2 separate regions of the Homo sapiens genome follow, and region 2 is linked to region 1. The links are contacts of gene promoters, found by promoter capture Hi-C in human tissues and cell types (Jung and others, 2019). All regions are on one chromosome and are shown on one strand. The core of a region is centred on a gene start or on the middle of the fragment in contact, and the rest is flanking DNA. Distances in the headings are between cores, read along the strand shown.

Region 1 (3,883 bases), core at 107-2,606:
CTTTGGGAGGCCAAGGCGGGCAGATCACCTGAGGTCAAGAGTTTGAGACCAGCTTGTCCAACATGGTGAAACCCTGTCTCTACTAAAAAAGAAAAGAAAAATACAAAAATTAGTCTGGCACAGTGGCATGTGCCTGTAGTCCCAGCTACTCTGGAGGCTGAGGCAGGAGAATCCTTGAACCCGGGAGGCAGAGGCTGCAGTGAGCCTAGATCATGTTACTGCACTCAAGCCTGGGCGAGAGAGCGAGACTCTGTCTCAAAAACAAACAAACAAACAAACAAACAAACAAACAAACAAACCAAACAAGAGGTGGAGGTGATAAGCTTCCCAAATATCCTTTTGATTAATCTTTCCAAGTTGCTGGCCTTTTTTCCCAAGCTTGCAGGTTTCTTAAACATTCATTCCACTGGTTTCACCTGTCTCAGATCATCTCCTTGTTCAATGCAGTGGTTCTCAGGAAAGTTTGGACCACCAATCAGAAACATCACAATTTTGTTTTCTTTCTTTTTTTTTTTTTTTTTGAGATGGAGTCTCACTCTGTAGCCCAGGCTGGAGTGCAGTGGCACCGTCTCTGCTCACTGTAACTGCCTCCCGGGTTCAAGCGATTCTCCTGCCTCAGCCTCCCGAGTAACTGGGACTACAGGCGTCCGCCACCACGTCCCGCTAATTTTTTGTATTTTTAGTAGGGACGGGGTTTCACCGTGTTAGTCAGGATGGTCTCGATCTTCTGACCTTGTGATCCGCCCGCCTCGGCCTCCCAAAGTGTTGGGATTACAGGAGTGAGCCACCGCGCCCGGCCCAACATCAGAACATCCTAGAAGTAGGAACTGGGTAGAAACGCAAATTCTTGGGCCCCAACCTAACTGCTGAATCTGAAGCTCTTGGAATTTCATCTGATACAAATTCAAGGTTGACAACCACGGTTCTAACATGCAGGATCTTGGGAGCTGATACAGAGGCCGAGAAGGATCTAGGTTGCTTTCCATGTTCCATCATGGCGAGACCCGGCTGAAGTTCCTGCCTTGACCTTCTCGTGCACGCTTCGGACGTGTGGAGCAGCCACCAGGGTGGGCTGGGGGCATTGTCTTCTTGGGCAGTTTCTTGGTCAGGGTCGTGTCTGCTTGAGGGCAGAGGCGCTGGCCACAAGGCCCTGACTCAGACTCATATTTTCCCCTCAAGAGGACAGAGCCTTAGCAAAGCCGTCCCAGCTGGCTTTGGGGTAATGCTGGCCTTAGTTATGCTGAGCGATGCAGCCCTCCTGAGGTCATTCGGAACGCCCGGGAGAGTGGCCACTCCCGCCCCAGAGGGGGAAGGGTGGCCGGTTTCCAAGTCCGACTTGGTCAGGTGACCGCGGCGCGGCATACTCAGCGGCAGAGACGGAAGAACAGCGCTCCCGAGGCCGCGGGAGCCTGCAGAGAGGACAGCCGGCCTGCGCCGGGACATGCGGCCCCAGGAGCTCCCCAGGCTCGCGTTCCCGTTGCTGCTGTTGCTGTTGCTGCTGCTGCCGCCGCCGCCGTGCCCTGCCCACAGCGCCACGCGCTTCGACCCCACCTGGGAGTCCCTGGACGCCCGCCAGCTGCCCGCGTGGTTTGACCAGGCCAAGTTCGGCATCTTCATCCACTGGGGAGTGTTTTCCGTGCCCAGCTTCGGTAGCGAGTGGTTCTGGTGAGTGCGCTCCCTTTTGTCTCGTCTGCCGCGCTTTTGTCCCCACCCGCAGCCTCCAGCCACCACCCAGCGGGCCTGGTTCGCCGCCTGGTGCTGCCTGCACCCTCGTCGGTTTCACCTCCCACTGCGTTACCCGCGTTTCGCACTTCCGGGTGTCGAATATGTGGTTTCCTGCCTAAGTGCTTCTGCTGGATGAACAGGGAATTTTTCTTCCGTGTGACTGTAAGAGTTTTCAGATACTCCTGACTCCTCAGCTTCTTCATAGTTGCGCATATTAAGCTGTAGTTATGACACTACAACATCGAGCTACTACAGACATTCATCAGTTTGTGCAGGGGCATCACACGAGCGGTGACTCAGGCACAATGGCCTATGGTTGCTCTGCTGCTACCTGCCAATTTACAGTCGTTCTGCCATGAAGTTATGGTTAAAACATAGTCATGAGTATGTGAAACGACTGTTCATTGAACACCATTGGCTACTTAATGTTAACATGTTACCCATGTGTGGCTCTAGGAACTTTTTAAAGAGGTTCTAGAATGGTACTCTTAACACAACCCAGTTATCATACTGCCGTATGAAAGGTGCTACACAAAAATCTGTGCGTTAGATTTTACCTTGAGATCTATGTGAAAATGTGCATGTAATTTCTTAAACTGTTGCACATGTCTTTTCTGACTAAATGCTACAAGTATTAAGTCCTTCAAAACAGAAATATTTTGTGTGCATATATAGAAACATACACATAATATATTCTTTTTTTTTTTTTTTTGAGACATAGTCTCATTCTGTCACCCAGGCTGGAGTGCAGTGGCACCATCTCGGCTCACTGCAACCTTCGCCGCCCGGGTTCAAACGATTCTCGCGCCTTAGCCTCCTGAGTAGCTGGGACTACAGGCGCACGCCACCATGCCTGGCCAATTTTTTTGTATTTTTTAGTAGAAACGGGGTTTTGCCATGTTAGCCAGGCTGGTCTTGAACTCCTGACCTCAGGTGATCCGCGGTGGCTCATACCTGTAATTCCAGGACTTTGGGACACATAATATATTCTTAAGTAAAAGAACGGAATCATTAAACAGTATTTATTTGAATCAACTATATACTACATAAATAGTATACATCCAAATTAACATACTATATTTAGTAGACACAATACAGAGTATGAACTATATATTATATTAACATTACATAGTATACATGGTACCATGCTCTACTCTAGGGGTAGAAAAATTACACCTCCATTCTGTTAGGGTCTCTGCTGGGTCCAAGAATTAAATTGACATTGTGTGACTAAATTATGTGGGGAGACTTAAATAATAAATTTTAGCAAGTTCTGTACAGTATTCTACTTCTTGTCTTTGAAGCTTAGGATGTTGCCTTTCCTTCTAGTACAGAGTGCCTTTCATACTGGAATTTCATCTTCTCTCCTAAGAAACAGCACAAAGGGCAAAGTGCTCTTCATGCACCTGCTATTTTTCGAGTTTCTTTACCTTTAAAAATGTGCCAAAATAGCATATTTTAACCCTTTCATGACAAAGAAATTGACTACCTGCAACCAGTAACCTTTCTTATTGGTAGGTCAATTGATGTAAAAAATAAAACTGGATAAGCTATGGAGAATTATTCATATTTTAAATAATTCACCTTCTAAAACAGAGACTCTTTATTCTTATGCCAAAACATAGCTACTTCAAAAAGATGTTACAAATCTTTATTTGCATGTTTTGGGCTGTAAGGAATCTTGAGCTTGTTTTGGAAATATTTTAGATTAGTGTGGTACATAATTAACAACTTTCTTCCCCCTAAATTGTATCTTATATTATCATTTTGTTCAACCATGAAGATTAGGTAAAGATATATTGGTGCCAAAGAGGATTTGACATTTTTGACTGAGACTAGTACTATGCCAAAATAAAACAGCTAGTTTTGAGTCATTTTATTCTTTGCTATGAATAACTTCATTTTCTACAGATAAACCCATGGTTATTTTGACCTAGAATAATAAAGATACTTCTCATACTAAACAAAATAGAGAACAGATTCCTGATGATCTGAAAATGCATTAACCCTGTGGAAGATTCTTTAATTACCTGTGATTTCCCTTTGTATCCTCTGCTCCTCACTCTCAATTTGACTTTCGGGGAATCAACAGTATAGATGAGTATATGTGACTGTTTTAAATGTCTATTAAAAACCAAATATAAATGATAGACCTTTA
Region 2 (3,732 bases), core at 1,025-3,524, 410 kb before region 1:
TTCTCAAAGAATTAAAAATAGAACTACCCTTTGATCCAGCAATCCAACTACTGGGCATATACTCAAAGGAAAAGAATCATTTTATCAAAAAGATACATGCACTCATGTTTATCACAGCACTAGTCATGACAGATACCGAATCAACCTAAATAACCATCAATGGATGATTGGATAAAGAAAATGTGGTAAATATATATATGGAATACTATGTATCCATGAAAAAAATAATATAATGTCTTTTGCAGCTACATGTATGGATTTGGAGGCCATTATCTCAAGTAAAATAACAAAAACAGAAAGCAAAATACTGCATGTTCTCACTTCTAAATGAAAGATAAATAGTATGCACACATGGACATACAGATTGGAATAACAGGTATTAGAGACTTGGAAAGGTGGGAAGGTGGGAGGCGGGTAAGGGATGAAAAATTACCTAATGGGTACAATAAACACTATTCAGGTGATGGTTACACTAAAAGCCCAGACCTCAACACTACGCAATATACCCATGTAACAAAGCTGTATTTGTACCCCCTAAATCTATTATAAATAAATAAACAAGGTCACCATATAATGATAAAGGGATTCGTTCGGTAAGAAGATACAATTCGGGCCGGGCGCGGTGGCTCACGCCTGTAATCCCAGCACTTTGGGAGGCCGAGGCGGGTGGATCATGAGGTCAGGAGATCGAGACCATCCTGGCTAACAAGGTGAAACCCCGTCTCTACTAAAAATACAAAAAATTAGCCGGGCGCCTGTAGTCCCAGCTACTCGGGAGGCTGAGGCAGGAGAATGGCGTGAACCCGGGAAGCGGAGCTTGCAGCGGCCTGGGCGACAGAGCGAGACTCCGTCTCAAAAAAAAAAAAAAAAAAAAAAAAAAGAAGATACAATTCTAAATATATATGAACTTAACACCAGAACATCCAGTTATATATAGCAAATATTATTAGATCTGAAGGGAGAGATAGACTCCAATACAATAATAGTTGAAGACTTCAACACCCTACTCTCTATATTAGACAGATCGTCAAGACAGAAAATCATCAAAGGAACATTAGATTTAAATTGCACTTCAGATCAACGTACCTAAAAGACATGCATGGAATATTTTATCCAATAGCAACAGAATATACATTCTTCTCATCAACACATGGAACATTCTCTAGTATAGACCATATGCTAGGCCACGAAGCAAGTCTAAATTTAAAAAAAAAATCAAAATCATATCAAATACCTTTCAGATCACAATAGGATAAAACTAGAAATCAATAACAACAGGAACTTTGGAAACTATACAAATACATGGAAATTAAATAACATGCTTAACAGCCATTGGGTCAATGAAGAAGACAGAAGGAAATAAACGTCTTGAGACAAATGAGAATGGAAACACAACATATCAAAACCCATGGGATGTAGCAAAAGAAGTGCTAAGAGGGAATTTCATAGCAATAAATGCGTATATCAAGAAGTAGAAACATTTCAAATAATCAAGCTAAGGATGCCCCCTCAATAACTAGAAAAGCAAGAGCAGACCAAATCCAAAATTAGCGGAAGGAAAGAAACAATAAAGATCAGAGCAGAACTAAATGTAATAGAGACTTTAAAAAAAAATACAAAGGTCAATGGAATGAAAAGTTAGTTTTTTGAAAAGATAAACAAAATTGATAAATCACTAGCTAGACTAACCAAGAAAATAAGAGAGAGGATGTGAATTAGCAAAATCACAAACAAAAAGGGAGACATTACAACTGATACCACAGAAATACAAGAAATCATCAGAGACTTATAAAGAACTATATGCTAACAAATTAGAAAAGCTAGAGGAAATGGATAAATTCCTGGACACATACAATCTACTAAGAATAAATCAGGGCTGGGCACCGTGGCTCATGCCTGTAATCCCAGCACTTTGGGAGGCCAAGGTGGGCTTCCTGAGGTCAGGAGTTCGAGACCAGCCTGACCAACATGGAGAAACCCCATCTCTACTAAAAATACAAAAAAATTAGCCTGGTGTGATGGCGCATGCCTATAATCCCAGCTACTCGGGAGACTGAGGCAGGAGAATTGCTTGAGCACGGGAGGCGGAGGTTGCGGCGAGACGAGATCGCGCCACTACACTTCAGCCTGGGCAACAAGAGCGAAACTCCGTCTCAAAAAAAAAAAAAAAAAGAAAAGAAAAGAATGAATAAGGAAGAAAGAGAAAACCTGAATAGACCAATAACAAGTAATGGGCTGGGAGCAGTGGCTCACACCTGTAATCTCAGCACTTTGGGAGGCCGTAGGCAGGCGGATCACGAAGTCAGGAGATCGAGACCATCCTGGCTAACAAAGTGAAACCCCGTCTCTACTAAAAATACAAAAAATTAGCCAGGCATGGTGGCGGGTGCCTATACTCCCAGCTGCTCGGGAGGCTGACGCAGGAGAATGGCGTGAACCCGGGAGGCGGAGCTTGCAGTGAGGGGAGATCGCACCACTGCACTCCAGCCTGGGCGACAGAGTGAGACTCTGTCTCAAAAAAAAAAAAAAAAAAAAAAAAAAAAGGAATGAGATTGAATCAGTAATAAAAAGTCTCCCAACAAAGAAAAGCTCAGCACCGGATGTCTTTACTTCCAAATGCTATCAAACTTGTAAAGAAAAACTAACACATATTCTTCTCAAACTATTTCAGAAAATTCAAAGGAGGAAATTCTTCCTTACTCATTCTGTGAGGCCAGTATTACCCTGATACCAAAACCAGACAAGGACATAATGGAAATAGAAAACTACAGGCCAATACCCCTGATGAACACAGACACAAAAAAGCTTCAACAAAATACTAGCAAAGTGAATCCAACAGCACCATAAAAGGATAATACATCAGATGAAAGGATGGTTCCACCCATGCAAGTCAATAAATGTGATACCTCACAACAACAGAATGAAAGACAAAAACAATATGATCATTTCAAGAGACAGAGAAAAGGAATTTTATAAAATTCAACTTCTTTTCATGATTAAAACTCTTAACAAATTAGGCATAGAAGAAACATGCCTCAGCATAGTAAAGGTCATATCTGACAAATGCATAGCTAACATAATACTGAGTGGGGAGAAGCTGAAAGACCTGTAACAAGACATTGGATACCCAGTTCCACCACTTCATTTTTATTATTTATTTAGAGATAGGGTCATCACTTTTATTCAACATAGTACTGGAAGTCCTTGCCAGAGCAATCAGGCAAGAGAAATAAATAAATGTCATCTAAATTGGAATAGAGGAAGTCAAACTGTCCCTCTTTGTAGATAACATGGATATATGTGTGTGTGTGTATTATATATACATGGATATATATATGTAATACATATATATATATATAAAACCTAAAGACTCCACCAAAAACACTCCTAGAATAAATGAATTTAGTAAAATTGCAGGATACAAAATCAACATATAAAAATCAGCAGCATTTCTATGTGCCAATAATAAACTGGCTAAAAAAGAAAACAATCTCATTTACAATAGCTACAAAAAATAAAATACTTAGGAATAAATTAAACCAAGAAAGTGAAAGACGCTTACGAGGAAAACTTCAAAACACTGATGAAAGAATGTTAAGAGGACACAAACAAATGGAAAGATATCCCATGCTCATGACTCAGAAGAATTACTATTGTTAAAATGACCATACTACCCAAAGCAATCTACAGATTCAATGTAATCCCTATCAAAACACCAATGACATTCTTTAT

Evidence for each region. Contacts are between HindIII fragments. The study calls those that stand out against the background at their distance.
Region 2: a contact is called between a fragment that was not itself captured here and the fragment with the promoter of FUCA2 in region 1, in 1 of the 25 tissues and cell types used here (H1 embryonic stem cells).

What each region holds. Positions count from the first base shown.
Region 1 is chr6:143,509,193-143,513,075 of GRCh38, reverse strand. It overlaps FUCA2 (alpha-L-fucosidase 2), which reads left to right and starts at 1,356. Exons shown (of 7, transcript NM_032020.5): 1 at 1,356-1,665. The coding sequence starts at 1,442. LOC105378035 (a long non-coding RNA gene) reads right to left here and starts at 1,291. Exons shown (of 4, transcript XR_007059796.1): 1 at 300-1,291; 2 at 1-82. RefSeq lists enhancers at 396-1,056, 1,078-1,257, 1,368-1,497, 1,057-1,719 and a silencer at 1,920-2,123. The HindIII fragment of the contact is 5,068 bases long and covers 88-3,883 here.
Region 2 is chr6:143,923,977-143,927,708 of GRCh38, reverse strand. All of the region lies in intron 6 of ZC2HC1B (zinc finger C2HC-type containing 1B), which reads right to left. Among named protein-coding and RNA genes, the nearest start is that of ZC2HC1B, 61 kb to the right of the region's middle. The HindIII fragment of the contact is 7,370 bases long and covers 1-3,732 here.